3 separate regions of the Homo sapiens genome follow, and regions 2 and 3 are each linked to region 1. The links are contacts of gene promoters, found by promoter capture Hi-C in blood cells and fetal thymus (Javierre and others, 2016). All regions are on one chromosome and are shown on one strand. The core of a region is centred on a gene start or on the middle of the fragment in contact, and the rest is flanking DNA. Distances in the headings are between cores, read along the strand shown. Region 1 holds the start of CLDND1 (claudin domain containing 1). Region 2 has its middle 12 kb from the start of CMSS1. Region 3 holds the start of HP09053 (a long non-coding RNA gene).

Region 1 (2,748 bases), core at 43-2,542:
CTTTCTCTAGTTGGTGCCTCTGACAAATTTTTTTTTGATTATATGCTGTATATGAAAATCCAGAGTCATGTTTGAATATATTTGGCTACTACCTTATTATGTGCTGCATATGAATATCAGTTTCACCCACTCAGGTCAAAGAAATGTAAGTACAGATAGAGAAACATATCATGCCTTTAATCTGTCAAAGTGGTAGAAATTTAATATCAACTTGCAGCTCCCATCTTTCTCCTATGCTAAATTACAAGGCATTAGGGGACAGAGTGGGGGTTTGAGAGCCCCTCTGGTCCTTGAGTCAGCTTTCTCTGTCGGTTACTGTTGAGAAATCCACCATTTGCTGGTCCCAGGCCACGTTAATAGTTCCACTCATGTTATTGTTAAGATGTCCCTGCTTCCTGTCCATGAATTTCTGTGTTAAACCTGAGGGTTCAGAATCATTGTTGCCCCTGTGCCACACATCATCTGCAATCTCCAATGCTGTCCATGACCTTATCTGCTTGAGTGATGTTCCCCAAATTTCAGTCTTTTTCCTACTATACCCACAATTTTTTATTCATTTTTTGACATATCTGGTATCCTCAGTATTATTAACTTAATAGTTTTTAAAATAAGTGAAAAGAATTTAAAAGGAACAACATTGCTGCAATAGAAAACTAGTATCACTTGTCATAAAAAGAAGGCAGCTACAAACACATTTTATGAAACCCAAATAATATCATTACATTCTTGATGGATACTGTCTGCCAGGTCACATACTTCTTAGCCTAAACTTATGCAATAAAACCAGAAGGATGCTCTGCTCCAATGGGAGGGATTCTGGGAGAGGGAAATAAAATGGGTCAACGTTTCACAAGTAGAATCCCATTTTTGTTCATTTATACTTAGATCTAGAGGCAGGGTGGTGTGATAGGGAAAGCACAGGCCTAAAAGTCAGATCTAAGTTATACAAGTCACGGTCATTGACTCGAGATGACCGGAAACAGGCCCGCTTTACTTTCTGGACCATTCTCCCTTCCTCCCTAAAATGCAAGAATCCAACAGCCTAGACTTCCCTTCTGCGTACCGGCTTGCCCTGAGGAGCTGAACTACATCTCCCACAATGCGCCGCGCGCGGCGCCAGGAATGCCTATCGCCGCCTCAGACAGCTTTCAGTCTGTCCCTCCTACAACTCCCACAAGGCCCCTCGGCCCCGGGCCGCGGCCCGGCCCGGAGTGGGGGCGGGCGGAGGCGCGGGAGTTATGGAGGGGGCGGGCTCTGCAGGGAAGTGCGTCAGAGGAGGCGCGGGGAGAGTAGGGTGCTGTGGTCTGAGCTAGAGGGTGAAGCTGGCGGAGCAGGAGGATGGGCGGTGAGTGAGCGGGACCTGCGTCGCCGGGCAGGGGTCGCGTCGCGGTTCCATGTTCCCGGCGGTTTGAAGAGGGGCCCCCTTCCCGGGCGTGGTCGGGCTGGGCGGGTTCCGAGCGGCGGATTTGTCCCAGGGCCGAGCCCTCTAGGGCGGGGCCTGGTCGGGTACCGGGGGACCCTGGCCCGGGGCCGAGCACGGCTGCCCCGCCCCAGCCCTGGCCTTCTCCGGCCCCGCCGTGAGGCCCAGGAGGTGGCTGCTGCAGGCGTCCGGCTTGGACGAACCGCCGTTCCCAGTGCTGGGACCCTTTAAGGTCATTTGAGAGCACCAGGATGAAGGGGGGATTTTTAAAAAATCAAAATACAAATCCAACTTTTTGAGTTTTCGTTGTCATTGCTCTTATCTTTCCTGAGTCACTTCCCATTTTCCAAACTCAGCAACCCCAGTTTGCGAGTCTGTTTTCATGAACCTTTGTAAGGTGTTTGGTGCGGTCACGGTGTATACTTGCCGTGTAGTATTTGACTCAGCGCGATCTGCCTTGAGTCATTTTACCGCGGCCATTTACTACTGCCGTTGAGCCCTGTCCACGCCTTGGGAGTGTTGATATGTTGAGAGTTTTCTGTCTGGCTGAGGAGGGATCATTTAGTTTTTGCGGACGTATGTTGCACTGAGGATTTAGGGAGAGAGCAAGATTTCTGTTGAGGAGGTTCAGAAGTATAAGGAATCGGGAGAGTAGATAGGAGTGAAGCATTTGGCAGCGTAAAGAAGCTTGGCTTAGCTTTAATGGATTAGGGAGAGATTGCTATCTAGCATTATTACATGTTATTGTTCTCTTTGCTATTTTATACACCTAGAACAACCTTTCCCTCGGGGTTAACAAACATCTTCAACTCTGTTTTCTGTATGGCTCCTGACTCTTACCTTTGTTTTAGGAGGCTTCCCTCTTCAGAGGAAACTGGGAGAAGCCAATTTCCACTGCTTCTTTTTCCTGTGCCTTTTTAACACTCAAACCCAGAACACTTAATCCTCTGCAGCTCGTGCAAAAATTCAGTCTGTAATTTAAAATGTGTGCACGGTACACTGCTGACCATGGGCATGTCTATTGTTTGTATCTGTAATGTGTATGTCCATTTCAGTGTTGTCTGTTTTAGTATGCAGGTGATAGACTAGAGAACAAGACCTCTGTCTCCGTAGCATCCTGGGTATGTGAGCATTCAATAAGTACTTTTATGAGAATGAGTTTTGTTTTAAGCTTAATTAAAAACATGCTTGCTTTCTAAAAAAAATTCTTAATGGTTATATGTACGAAGGGATGGGGAATTGGGTAAAGGGTGCATTTGGAATAATTCAAAATAATCTTTCTTATTTGTCCGTAAACTCTAACTTATCTTCTTTCTTCAACTTCTAAA
Region 2 (2,700 bases), core at 121-2,620, 1.3 Mb before region 1:
CCCCCCTCACTCGAGCCACTGGCAACCACCATTCTGCTTGCTACCTCTATGAATTTGACTACTCTAGGTACTGCATATAAGTACAGTCATACAATATTTGTTATTTTGTGACTGGCATAATGTCCTCAAGGTTCATCCATGTTATAGCATGTGTCAAAATATTCTTCCTTTTTAAGGCTGAATAATAGTCCATTGCATTATAGGCCACATTTTGTTTATTCATTCATCCATTAGTGGCCTCTTGGGTTAATTCCACCTTTTAGATATTGTGAATAATGCTGCTATGAACATGAATATACACATGTATGTTTGAGTTCATGCTTTCAATTCTTTTGGGTATATACCAGAAGTGGAAATGCTTGATCATATGGTAACTCTATTTTTAATTTTTTGAGAAACCACCATACTGTTTTTCACAGTGGTCCAGTTTCACATTCCCCCCAAGCAGTGCACAAGGGTTCCAGTTTCTCCACATCCTTGCCAATACTTGTTATTATCTGGTTTTTGTTTGTTTTGATAGTAGTCTTCCTAATAAGTATGAGGTAGGTCCCTTTCCTTTTCAAAACCTGCTGCCTTTATATATTCTAAGGGATGGGAATGTCACCATGACATCTGTCATAGTCTTTTTGTAGCTGACTATATCTGTTGTCTCTGGTAAGCACAATAATCAAGAAACAACAGAGAGCCCTGTCATCTCCTGAACCCTCACTGGCAGTTGTTTGCTTCTTAGATAGCTAAGAACTTTTGTCTCCTTCCTTGAGGAGGCGATCTGGCATAATACCTGAGAGCATGGACTGTGAAGCCAGATATCTGCATTAAAATCATGGCATTGTCATTTATTAGATCTTGGACAAGTTACTATGTCTCTGCTTCTTGTCTTGTCTTTTCTCTCTCTTTCTTTCTGTCTTTCTCTCTTCCTTTCTTTCTTTCTTTTTTTTTCCCCCAGGGTCTCACTCTGTTGCCTAGGCTGGAGTGCAGGCACAGTCATAGCTCACTGAAGGTTTGAACTCCTAGGCTCAAGGGATCCTTCCTCCCCAGCCTCCCAAGTAGCTGGTACTACAGGTGCACACCACCACACTGGCTAATTTTTAAATATTTTTTGTAGAGACAGGGTCTTACTATGTTACCCAGGCTGGTCTTGAACTCTGGGGCTCAAGTCATCCTTGTGCCTTCGCCTCCCAAAATGCTGGGATTACCAGTGTGAGCCACCATGCCCAGTGCCTCCATTTCTTTAGCTGTAAAATGGAGCTAATAATAGAGTTATTATGAGGAGTAACTAAGTCAATACATAAAAACATTTAAAGCAGTTTGTGGCACATGGTTGGCACTCACTAAATGGTAGCAGTTGTTACCCCTCTGGAAGCTCCCTGAGGCCTCCCCAGAATCTAATGCCCCAGTGCTTCCTGTACAGCCTGCAGAACTGTGAGTCAATTAAATCTCTTTACTTTGTAGATTACCCAGTCTCAGGTATTTCTTGATAGCAGTGCAAGAACAGACTAATTCAGAAAATTGATACTGAAGAGTAGGGCATTGCTATAAAGATACCTGAAAATGTGAAATCAGCTTTGGAACTGGGTAACAGGCAGAGGTTTGAACAATTTGGTGGGCTCAGAAGAAGACAGGAAGATGAGGGAAAATTTGGAAATTCTCAGAGACTTGTTAAACTGTTATGACCAAAATGCTGTTAATGATATGGACAATGAGGTCCAGGGTAATGAGATCTCAGATGAAAGTGAGGAACTTATTGGGAACTGGAGCAAAGGTTACTTTTGTTATGTGTTAGCAAAGAACCTGGTGGCATTGTACCCCTGCCCTAGGAATCTATGGAACTTTGAACTTGAGAGTGATGATTTGGGGTATCTGGCAGAAGAAATTTCTAAGCACCAATGTGTTGAAGATGTGGCCTGGCTGCTTCTAACAACCTATGCTAATAATGTATGAGCAAAGAAAGGACATAAAACTAGAACTTACGTTTAAAGGGGAAGCAAAACATAAACGTTTGAAAAATTTGCAAACTAGTCATGTGGTAGAGAAGAAAAGCCCATTTTCCGGGGAGCAGTTCAGACTGGCTGCAGAAATTTGTATAGCTAAAAGGAAGGCACATGCTGATAGCCATGACAATGGGGGAAATGCCTCCAAGGCATTTCAGAGATCTTTGTGGCAGCCCCTCCCATCACAGGCCTGGAGGCCTGGGAGGACAGAATGGTTTTGTGGGCCTCACTTAGAGCCTGACTACCCTGTGCAGGCTTGGGACACTGCTCCCTGCATCCCAGCCATTCTCGCTCCAGCTGTGGCTCAAAGGGGCCCAGGTACAGCTTGGGCCACTGCTTCAGAAGGTGCAAACCATAAGCCTTGGTGGTTTCCACATGCTGTTAAGCCTGTGGGTATGCAGAGTGCAAGAGTTGAGGCTTGGGAACCTCCACCTGGATTTCAGAGGATGTGTGGAAAAGCCTGGATGTCCAGACAGTAGCCTGCTGAAGGGGCAGAGCCCTCATGGAGAACCCCTACCAGGGCATTGCAGAGGGGAAACGTGGGACTGTAGCTCCCACACAGAGTCTCCACTGGAGTGTTGCCTAGTGAAGCTGTGAGAAGAGGGCCACCTTCCTCAAGACTCTGGAATGGTAGATACACTAACAGCTTGCACCTGTTGCCTGGAAGAGCTACAAGCACTCAACATCAGCCTTTGAGAGCAGCTCTGGG
Region 3 (2,851 bases), core at 78-2,577, 1.3 Mb before region 1:
TAATTTATAAAATTAAATCCAAATATGGTTACAATAAAATGTTAGACACAGTTTTACAAGGACTACTAATGTAATTTTGAAAAGAGAAAAGCGGCATTTGCCAAATCTGTCAAAAGCCTGGACAGGAGTTTGACAAATCTGCCAGCAGATCAAGGTTCTTTTGATAAAGATCTCCTAGGTTGAGGTCTTCAAGGTGTGACTACGAAATATTAATAATTAATTGGTTAACTAACAAATACTTAATGAGTGCCTTCGCTGTATCCAGATACTACTCTAGGCCCTGAAACTAAAGCAAACAAGACAAACAAAATACCTGCTCACATGGAGCTCTTACAGTCTACTGCTGGGAAAAAGTAATTAATTTAACAAGGAAAAATAATAGTTGGTGCTAAGTGCTCTGCTGAGAATTATAATAACATAATAATTTAATAGATATTGTGATAATGTAATAGAGCACCTAGATAGTTACTCTAGACTGCCTGATCAGGAAGCGCCACTCTGAGTAGGTGACGTTTGAACTGAGTACTTAATGTTAAGACAGAGCCAGCTGGCCGGGCCTGGTGGCTCATGCCTGTAATCCCAGTGTTTTGGGAGGCTGAGGCGGGCGGATCAAGAGCTCAGGAGTTCGAGATCAGCCTGGTCAACATGGTGAAATCCCGTCTCTGCTAAATATACAAAAGTTAGCTGGGTGTGGTGGCAGGCGCCTGTAATCCCAGCTACTCAGAAGGCTGAGACAGGAGAATCATTTGAACTCAGGAGGTGGAGGATGCAGTGAGCTGAGATCGCACCACTGCACTCTAGCCTGGGTGACAGGGCGAGACTCCAGCTCAAAAAAAAAAAAAAAGAAAGAAAGAAAGCCAGCCAATCAGAAGGACAGGACAGAAAGGAAAAGAACAGCTAACACAAACGGCTAAGTAAGACAGAATGAGTGTGGCCTACTGAGGAACAGAATGAAGGCTGGTGTGGGTGGGGCAGCATAAACTATAGGGGAGTAAATAGTAGAAGACCTGGTGGCCACCAGCCATGGTAAGTAATCTGAATTTCATTCTATGTGCCAGGGAAAAAGCTATTGGAAGATTTAAGCAGGAAAGTGGCCTGACTTCTTTTCAAAAGGCCTCTAGCTGGTGAGTGAGGGACAAGGTGGAAACTCTGAGCCCTGTTAGAAGCTTATGGCAGTAAGGATGAAAATGTATACTCCAATGGAGGCAGAGCGAAGAAAAATGCAAAGAAAGAATCAGGATATGTTTTCGAGGTAGTGACAACAGGACTTGATGGATGAGATATAGGGGTGAAAAAAATAAATAAATCAGAATACTGCTAGGCCTTTGTGAAATTGGGTAGTTGGTGGTTTAATTTATGGAGACAGGAAAGTTTGGAGAAAAAGCAGGTTTGGAGAATAATTCAGTAGCTGGGTCTTGTTTACATTTGACATCCCTATTAAATAACTAAGTAAAGATTTAAAGAAGGCAGCCACATATGTTAAGCTTTGAGCTCCAGGATCAGGTTTGAGTTACTGGCAGAAATGGTTCTCAAAGCCCAAATGGAAAAGCTGCTTATTTGTAGCTCCAAGTAACCAGTGTTCTTTAAAAGAGTAAACTTTGGAAAACTAATAGACACAATTTCATAATGATATATAAACAAAAGACTTTCTAAATTATGAGTCTCTTTAAGCCGATAACAGATTATTCCTTTAGAGATGAGATTCTTACCACTGATAATGAGAATGCGAAATATAAGCACACAGGCTCTGGTTTCAGACTGCCTGCATATGAATCACAGCTCCCCTATTTACCAATTAAATAGATAGTATTGGGTGAATTAAATTAAATAGTATTAAGTAAATCACTTAATTTCTCAGTGTCTCAACTTCCTCATCAGTAAAATAAAGATAACAACAGTAACTACCGCTGGTGTACTTGGGAAGATTAAATTAACTAGAACATGTAAAGCAATCAAAACAGCATCTGGCAGGTAGTTAAGTGCTCAACAAATGCAAGCTGGTATTATTACTATTATTATTATTATCATTATTATTTTGAGATGGAGTTTTGTTCTTATTGCCCAGGCTGGAGTGCAGTGGCACGACCTCGGCTCACTGCAACCCCCGCCTCCTGGGTTCAAGCAATTCTCCTGCCTCAGTCTCCTGAGTAGCTGGGATTACAGGTGCGTGCCACCACGCCCAGCTAATTTTTTGTAGTTTTAGTAGAGACAGGGTTTCATCACATTGGCCAGGCTGTTCTCAAACTCCTGACCTCAGGTGATCCACCTGCCTCAGCCTCCCAAAGTGTAGGGACTACAGGCGTGAGCCACTGCGCCTGGCCGCAAGCTGGTATTATTACCTGCAGTCTCCTGGCACTGTACATAGCAGTGTCTTAACACTTCAGTTTTCTAGTTAGGTGCTTGGGAAGAGATGTCATCAAAGATTCAGAATGAGTTGGGGAGGCATATGAAAGACCCTCCTTAAAAGACATGGAGGCTCAATGTTACAGACTGCTAAGAACATGCTCTTTAAAAATAACCTATCTGTATGCCAGTTATTCCTAAATCTGTATCTCAGCCTGGATCTGGCCCTGGGGCTCCAGACTCACATACTTAGCTGCCTACTGGGTACTCGACTTGGTAATTTAATAGGTATGTCATTGAAATAAAAAGGGAAAGCAATTAGTATTCTCTTCATCTTCAGTGAGTAAATGATCAAGTAACATTTTCTTTTTTCTTTTTTTTGAGACAGAGTCTCAGTCTGTAGCACAGGCTGGAGTGCAGTGGTGCGATCTTGGCTCGTCGCAAGCTCCACCTCCTGGGTTCAAGCAATACTCCTGCCTCAGCCTCCTGAGTAGCTGGGACTACAAGT

Evidence for each region. The method cuts DNA at HindIII sites, captures the fragments that hold promoters and counts their contacts. A CHiCAGO score of 5 or more calls a contact.
Region 2: a contact is called between a fragment that was not itself captured here and the fragment with the promoter of CLDND1 in region 1, in 4 of 17 cell types (total B cells, total CD4 T cells, naive B cells and 1 more). The highest score is 12.0, in total B cells.
Region 3: a fragment that was not itself captured here is called in contact with the fragment with the promoter of CLDND1 in region 1 in 7 of 17 cell types (total B cells, total CD8 T cells, naive CD4 T cells and 4 more); the score reaches 11.5 in total B cells.

Annotation. Positions count from the first base shown.
Region 1 is chr3:98,521,446-98,524,193 of GRCh38, reverse strand. It overlaps CLDND1 (claudin domain containing 1), which reads left to right and starts at 1,292. Exons shown (of 5, transcript NM_001040181.2): 1 at 1,292-1,345. It overlaps CLDND1-AS1 (CLDND1 antisense RNA 1), which reads right to left and starts at 1,624. Exons shown (of 2, transcript NR_198998.1): 1 at 1,361-1,624. RefSeq lists silencers at 1,046-1,685, 1,736-1,845. The HindIII fragment of the contact is 2,905 bases long and covers 1-2,109 here.
Region 2 is chr3:99,804,869-99,807,568 of GRCh38, reverse strand. No RefSeq gene overlaps it. Among named protein-coding and RNA genes, the nearest start is that of CMSS1, 12 kb to the left of the region's middle. The HindIII fragment of the contact is 4,083 bases long and covers 1-2,700 here.
Region 3 is chr3:99,821,919-99,824,769 of GRCh38, reverse strand. All of the region lies in intron 1 of CMSS1 (cms1 ribosomal small subunit homolog), which reads right to left. HP09053 (a long non-coding RNA gene) reads left to right here and starts at 905. Exons shown (of 3, transcript NR_110821.1): 1 at 905-1,026. All of the region lies in intron 1 of LOC105374010 (a long non-coding RNA gene), which reads right to left. The HindIII fragment of the contact is 318 bases long and covers 1,169-1,486 here.